Regions from separate parts of the Homo sapiens genome. Here region 2 is linked to region 1. The links are contacts of gene promoters, found by promoter capture Hi-C in blood cells and fetal thymus (Javierre and others, 2016). All regions are on one chromosome and are shown on one strand. The core of a region is centred on a gene start or on the middle of the fragment in contact, and the rest is flanking DNA. Distances in the headings are between cores, read along the strand shown.

The links. Contacts are between HindIII fragments. The CHiCAGO score rates a contact against its expected background, and 5 or more counts as called.
Region 2: the fragment with the promoter of CCNB1IP1 here is called in contact with the fragment with the promoter of SUPT16H in region 1 in 1 of 17 cell types (monocytes); the score reaches 7.4 in monocytes.

What each region holds. Positions count from the first base shown.
Region 1 is chr14:21,382,001-21,385,776 of GRCh38, forward strand. SUPT16H (SPT16 homolog, facilitates chromatin remodeling subunit) reads right to left here and starts at 2,019. Exons shown (of 26, transcript NM_007192.4): 1 at 1,862-2,019. The coding sequence starts at 1,927. It overlaps CHD8 (chromodomain helicase DNA binding protein 8), which reads right to left. Exons shown (of 38, transcript NM_001170629.2): 38 at 3,199-3,776. The coding sequence ends at 3,613. LOC107984643 (a long non-coding RNA gene) reads left to right here and starts at 2,273. Exons shown (of 2, transcript XR_001750627.2): 1 at 2,273-2,713. The HindIII fragment of the contact is 3,293 bases long and covers 1-2,688 here.
Region 2 is chr14:20,331,144-20,334,919 of GRCh38, forward strand. CCNB1IP1 (cyclin B1 interacting protein 1) reads right to left here and starts at 2,136. Exons shown (of 7, transcript NM_021178.5): 1 at 2,111-2,136. RefSeq lists an enhancer at 1,906-2,215. The HindIII fragment of the contact is 11,464 bases long and covers 1-3,776 here.

The DNA.
Region 1 (3,776 bases), core at 769-3,268:
ATCCCACTATCTTTCTGCTATATCCAGGAGGATAAGCGACTAGATTTAACCCAGAAAACTACTATCTCTGATTAAGTGTATCAGAATGAAAGCACTGTAGGGTGAAAAGACTGCATACACAAAGAACTTCTACAGGTGGGTTCTGGACACATTAACACAAAAGCAGAAAGTCTTATTCAAGTAAGTTTTTCATAATAGCCACAGGTTTTGTTAACTGGTACATTTTTACATAGATTTGGCTCATAACTTTACACCATCAGTGTCTTATCAATATCTAACATTCTCCCAAGATGATGTCATTAAGGTAGTAAGAGGGCCAAGATAAACTTTAAAGATTTTTGAGATACAAAAAAAAATGGTGGGTGGGAAATAACTTTCATGGATTTAAAGACTATCAGTTTTATTAGGTTTGCCAACCTGTCTTCAGGCCACAGTTAATTTGTCATGTAGAGGAAGTGAGAGCTATAGATTAGTTTTCATGAATGGTATAGAGAGAATGAAATTATTTGATGAATCTGAATCACTGGGACTAGAAACAATTTTCATACCAAAGGTTCACAGTTTCAGGGTTTATGGGTACAAGAGAGGGCTTCGGATTTTTAGTACTTACTGATCATTAGAAAGTATCAAGGTTTTAAAATGTTTTTCTAACATCGATTATGTTTGAATAATATGACACTGAGAGAAGCTGCAAAAAATCATTTGGTAGAAATTAATCAAAAAATTAAAAAAAATAAAATGTTCAGTATTCATCTAGCATTTAGTTCTTATTTTTCCTTTTCATAAAATGCAAGAGAATCAATTTTATTTTCAATTATCTAATGTATTTAGCCCCAAAAGATGAAACATGCACAGACAGCTTTAATATGAATGGCAAGGAAACGACCAATTTTAATGGCTTGGTTTTAGTAGATGACCAGTTTGAAAGATAATTTACAATGCTGAAATGAGAGCTGATCATTTTTCTCAAAACGTTTTTCAGGTTAAAAAAAAATCTTTATTAGCTGTATCTTCCCTTGATGACAGGGTTCAGGGGCAAGACTTAAGCTAGCCAACTCAGACTGCATCACAGAATGCAACCAAATGTTTGCTCAATTAGTAAGTTAACATCATAAAAATAAGTTTTAACTGTGGACGTTTTTAGAGCAGCAAAACTGCCGAATCTTTAAAAAACTGGGAACTGCCACAGCTCTTTTAATGAACACGTGCCCCGGATACGCTACCAAGGAACTAATAAGGTTTTAGGCATCGTTTTGTTTTGTTTTGTTATTACTAATGCCTGCAGGCTTTCAGCGTTAGGTCCCTCTCTGTAACCCACAGCAGGGCCTAGAACATGAGGCGGTTGCGCGTGAGCAGTATTTCTTTTTTTAACTCCAGCAAAAGCCCCGCAAACGATAAACGCTAAAAGCCCGATTGACATCCTCCTTGCCCTTCCATCTCTCCTTTACGAAGACGGTTATAATCCTGGCGGGACCAGGGGTGGAATATTGTGGTTCTGGAGGGACAGAGCGAGTGCGTGAGAACACGGCAGGGGAGGGCAGCAAGACGTGACCACGGAGTAGGAGGGAAGGATGTTGCCTCTTCTAGGGCGGGAAGAGACTGCGAGAGGTGCTGCTATGCATGACCAAGGCTGGCACGCGGGGAAGATGGTGATGGCCGCAGGACAGGGTGAATGCGGGGGATTCCCTGTTAAGGGGCAGCGTTCGTGGCCGCCTCCGGTGAATGATTCGGGAGCAACGAAAAGGGTGAGGCACAGAACCCGGGAATTCCTGACCGAAAGAGAAAAAAGGGCGCCGAGAAACAGGGTTATTATGGGATGGCTAAGGGGGCTCCCTAGGAAAAATTACAGGATCTTCCTCACCCGCCAATTGCTGTACAGTCTCTTCACTCGCCGATAATAAGCGTCTTTGTCCAGAGTCACAGCCATAGCCCCGGACGCCGCTTCTCCTCGGGTTCCGAGAATCACGCGAGGTCCCGGCTCAGCCACCCGCTCTCGGCCCAGGAATCCCGCACTCTCCCAATGACCCGGAAGTATCGACCTCAAAGATGCCCTTTCCGCTTCCGGGTCCCAACAGCGTTAGGTTTTTTTTTTGTTTGTTTGTTTGTTTTGTTTTTTTCCAACCCTCTTTCGGATGGACGGGGGAAAGAGAGAAAGAAAAACGAGGGAAAATCAACAAAATGTGCGATGCAAAGAGTCGATTTTCGCGGGGTTTGTCAACTTCGCCACTGCCGCACGCGAATCGACGTCGTCACGTGACGGTCTGCCTCCGCCCTTATTAACTCTCAGCCCAGCGGCGGTTTCCAGGACCTCAGACTTTTTGCCGAGGCGGCAGTCCCTAGACGAAGCGAAGGAGGCGGCGCCTGCCCCGCCCACAAGAGCTGCCGCGCGCGGGTGTTATAGCTCCACCCCATCTGCAAAGGAAGGGGGAGCGGAAAGAGCGGGATCTAGCGTGGGATAAAAGTGGGACTACTACAGTGTAACTGGGCATGCGCCCCTCCTAGAAATGATGGGAATGCAAAAGCCCTTGACTGCTCCAGGACTCGAGGGATCCTCGGTGCCAGGATGCTGGGTCAAGCGCTCCGCCGGGACAGAGGACTCATACCAGGGAAATGGAGCCCAGCCTCGTGATAAACTACGACCCAAGCTGGGGGAGGAACCTAGTTTTCGAAAGGAAAATAATATGCGCAAGCTTTAACTGAGCAGTGGGATGGTGTAAGTCAGAGGAAACAGATGACTTGAGGGGCTCTACAAACTTTTAGTTCCTTCCCACAACCCCACCCCCTGAGCCCAAGTCGCGGCAGCATCCTTCCAGTCGGCCAGTCCCCTTGCTGCAGTTCATGAAAACTGGCACTATTCTATGGCTTCCCCCAAATAACCGTTACTTCAGTTAATTAGAAACAAAACATAAATGGTTCCTGATGACATTCTTGCTCCCTGTCTCTTCTAAAAACTTGGAGTTTGAATCCAGAAGTTTGCCTACCTACCATTTACCTTAAATAATTCCCTTGCCTTTAGCCAGCTGGACAGTCTACATTTGTATATACCCTTTAGAGGAGTACAGATGACTTGTCTGCTGTAAGGCAATTTAGTATAAACAGTATTGAACTTAAGGAAAGTGGTGCTGAAATTACCCACCATTAACAACTCAAAATCAATACACTGGGTTTGAGCAAACATAGAACAAAGGAAGAGTGGAAAAGGATTAACTTAAATTTATTAATGCCAAGGGGAAAGAAGGTAACAGTTCCTGACCCTCCAGCTGTATCCACAGTTCGGCCAGGAACAGGCTCTGCCAGAGGCTAGGGCCAGCGCTACATAGTCTGTGGTTAATGGAGGTGACTAGGGAGGGGTGAGCACACCAGCTGCTCTAGTCTCCTTTCCTTCCCCAGAAATGAGGAAGTGGTCATGTATTATTTTAGGAGTTCCCCTGCCCACCCAATCCTCTCATAATTGGGAGCAATCAGGTACATTTTTTTTTTTTTTTCCTTTTCACCTCCTGGAGTCCTGGACTTCCCCACATCTCCCCTGCCCCTCCCACGTTTCCATAGTCCAAGGGCCAGAGTAAATGAAAATACAGCAGCCGCCCAAGCAATGGGGCCCATGCTGGGGCTTCAGTCATCAGCATCTTCACTGGAGTCTGAGTTAGCTGGCATCATAGGATCATCAATGAGTGAGAAGTCCCTTTCTGAGCTATCATAGCCCTGAGATAAGTCATCATCATCTTCTTCATCCTCATCGTCATCCTCCTCAGGTTGCAGTGGTGGCAACCGCAAGG
Region 2 (3,776 bases), core at 886-3,385, 1.1 Mb before region 1:
TTCCTAACTTAATACTAAAATATGCCCTCAACACCATGAGTTCAGGGGCATATCCAGCACACATTTTCTAAGTAAACACTGAAAGCATGCCCTTTCTGCCCCTGTGAATACAAAGATGACTTGGTTGTTCTGGGCCACTGCTGTCACTCCTTCCCAGCATTAAACACATGCTCATAACAAGATAAACCATCCCCACTCAAACCAAAGTGGGCAAAGATATATTCACATAAAAGCCATCAAGATGATTTTCCTTTCGGTAGAAAATCCTTTATTGCTCAATCAAGTTTAGAGTATTGATTGGTTTCTAATCACCACCGTGTACAAAATAAATATAAATAGGAAGCACTGCAAAATATCTAGAGTCCTTTTAAACAAGAATATACCAAAACCCAATTGAAATGCCTTTATGCCAACTGACTGATTTACAAGGTTATTCATTTGAGGGGGAAATATCAAGATCATAAACTATCTGAATACCTACTGATAAAAGCTAAATAAATTATAGTAGGTACATAAATTAGAATACTGAGTTACCATTATACCCTGAAAACCTACTGAAAAAATATATTTTTTAAAAAAAATAATTTTTAAAGAATACTATGTTACCATTATGAAGAATGTGAACACTCTACTCATGGAACTTAAGTGGAAAAAGTAAGACACATAGTAGAGTAGGTATAGTAAAAGGGAAGGATACCTACACATATTTGCTTATATGCATAAAATATCTTAGTAACACTGTTATGAGGGAGAGGAATTGGATGGCTTAGGGAAGGGGATAAGAAACTTTGATATCTTTTGAATTTTGAACCATGTGAATGTATTACCTATTCAAAAATATATATATATATGATGTGTATACATATATATATATATATATATATTTTTTTTTTTTTTTTTTTTTTTTTGAGACAGAGTTTCGCTCTTGTTGCCCAGGCTGGAGTGCAATGGCGCGATCTCGGCTCACCGCAACCTCCACCTCCCGGGTTCAAGCGATTCTCCTGCCTCAGCCTCCCGAGTAGCTGGGATTACAGGCATGCGCCGCCATGCCCCAAAAAATAAATTTTAACAATGCTTGAGAATTATAAAAATTATGGGAGGCCTACAAATACCTATTACTACATTCGATTAACTGGTTTATTATTTGTCTTTCTCACACTTTCTGCCTATAAGAATATCCAACACAAACATCACATTAAAATTAACATGTACCAAAAGAAAGGAATTCAGTGAAATGACATTGAAGGTCACTAAGCAAACTTTTTATGAGAAAACAGATATCCAAAATACTTGCTGTAAATAAATAAGTACTGCTTACTTCTAAAGGTACCTAACATTTATTACACACCAACTAGAGCCTAGTTTTTATATATTTTATCTGATCTTGGAAAGCTAAGCCTCGGAATGGCTCACTGCTTCTCCCAAGGTCACCAGAGCTGTAAACTGTGGCGCTGGAATTTAAATCTAGAGGCTTGCCCTGAACTAAGGTCCCTAATCTTTTTCCATAGCTTTTAAGGACACAATCACCACAGTGGCAACATTAAAAATTAGGAGCTCCTTTTAAGGCTTATCTGTCTTCAGAGTTTGCTGCCCAGGTTCACCAAGAAAGCCGAAATGATCTGAGCGAAGGCCAGGAGAAAGACAAGGTACGCTGCAGCTTCCACAAACCCAGTAAGGACCTGGGCCCTCTAGACACTCACCGGAGAATTAAACTCTACTGAGCTGAACGCCTTCTCCCGAAATCTGACCTCACCCAGGGAGATATAAATCAAAACAGCATTAGGATGATAATATCTTTCCCGCCAAGCAAAATGAAGCCGGCGTTTTCCAAGAACACACGCACTGTGCACATGAAGCACAGTCTATTGTTCCTGGGTCACCAGGACTCGGAGACGGAAGGCAAACCCAGTACTGCAGAGGCCCACGTGGAAACAAGCCAGGAAGAGCATTTCACTGCCTTCTCCCAACCTCCACACAGCCGAAATTAATCTCCTTGCGACTCACACACACTCCTATGCCGACTTGAAATAAAGGCCTGCCACCTGGGTATATAACTCAAATGGAAGAGAAATTCAAAACAATTAGAGAGCAAAATTAAGCGCACACTCACCAGCCCACCAAAACGGAGAGGGAAAGAAAGTGGAGAGACAGGAAGTCGCCTTGGGAAGTGTCTTCAGAACCTGATTGGCTAATGAGTTCAAGAGGATTCCCTCCTCCTTTACCTTAAAAGGTGCTGAAATGACGTAACCCACTCCACCCCTCTTTATGGACCAGTGATGCTTCTTGCACTATTTTTGGAGTGAACTTCTTAAACCGAGTTTCCTTTTGAGTTAATGTACTTAGGCAAAAACAGGCTAATTTAAGCTATTTATACACGTTGTTGTTTGCGTGGGCCTACTGCATTCTATTCTAAAGAATTTTCATCCCTTAAGGGTAATTTCTTATCCTTTGTGACCTCAACATGCTTAACTTATGCTAGGCAACAGATTCCATTATAAACAGTCTAGATCGATTCAAGTTAAAATTTACCTTCATTTTTTCCCCCCAGATCCAAAGCTGGCCTGATAAAATTTACCTTCAGGTAATCTTTGAACTAACAGGCTTAGTAGATAAAAGGTAGGTGGGTTAAGTGTTTTAGGCTTCAAATAAAATTTAGCTGATTTTGAATCTGAACCTTGCCACTTATTTGCACACATCTAAGCCTCAGTTCCAACTATAAAAAGAGGGAAAAAAGATGAAATCTTCCTACTCTGATGGTTATGAGGATTAAGTAAAATAATTTATATAATGTACTCAGTACAATGCCCGGTACACAGTACTCAACAATGTTAGCTGTTATTATTGTTATTACATATTTCTTGTTAGATTTATATTCCCAAGTAGACTATAAACAACTGGAGATCAAAGTGTACGTTTTACACATCTCCAGACAAAAACAATGACTTTCAATGCTGAGGACATAATTGATTAATCAATTATTTTGACTCCTCACATCGCCCTCCAGTTAAAGTATAGGTTCTTACTCTGTTAAATTTTTTTTTTTTTTGAAACAGGGTCTCACTTCGTGTCCCAGGCTGGAGTGCAGTGGTGAAATCTCGACTCACTGTAGCCTTGACCTCCCAGGTTCAAGCGATCTCCTGCCTCAGTAAGTAGCTGGGACTACAGGCGTGCACCATCACACCCAGCTAATTTTTGTATTTTTTTGTAGAGATGGGGTTTCGCCATGTTGCCCAAGCTGAAAGATTTCTTTTTAAGCCATAATTAGAGGACTCCCCGGCACAATATTCATCATTATTCTTAATAAATACTATTATAGTAATAGGGAATATATATACAAGTATGTGTTATATGTACAAATATACATGTAATGTGCAAATGTTTGAAGTATAAAGATTCAAGTTATATGGAGAAATGATACAACTCTAACTCATAGTAGTTCTCATTTTTTAATCATTTCATCCTATCCACCCTGCTTCCACCTTACTAGAAATTACCTATTCCAATCCACTTTAGAGTTTACCTGCCCCAAATTTCCCAACATTTAGCATCAAATGCTAATTTGTTATTTCATAATTGATTTATTGTAACTTCTAGAGTCAAAACATTTCTTGAATGTTTACTATAAATATTCAAGAAATGTAATATTCATTACCTTGTTTAATCTTCACATTAACCCAAGAATGTAAGCACTTTCATTATAACTATTTCACCAAAAAAAAAAAAAAAAAAAAGGAAACAGAGTTATAGAGATTAAGGAATTTGTCTATTTAGCAAGT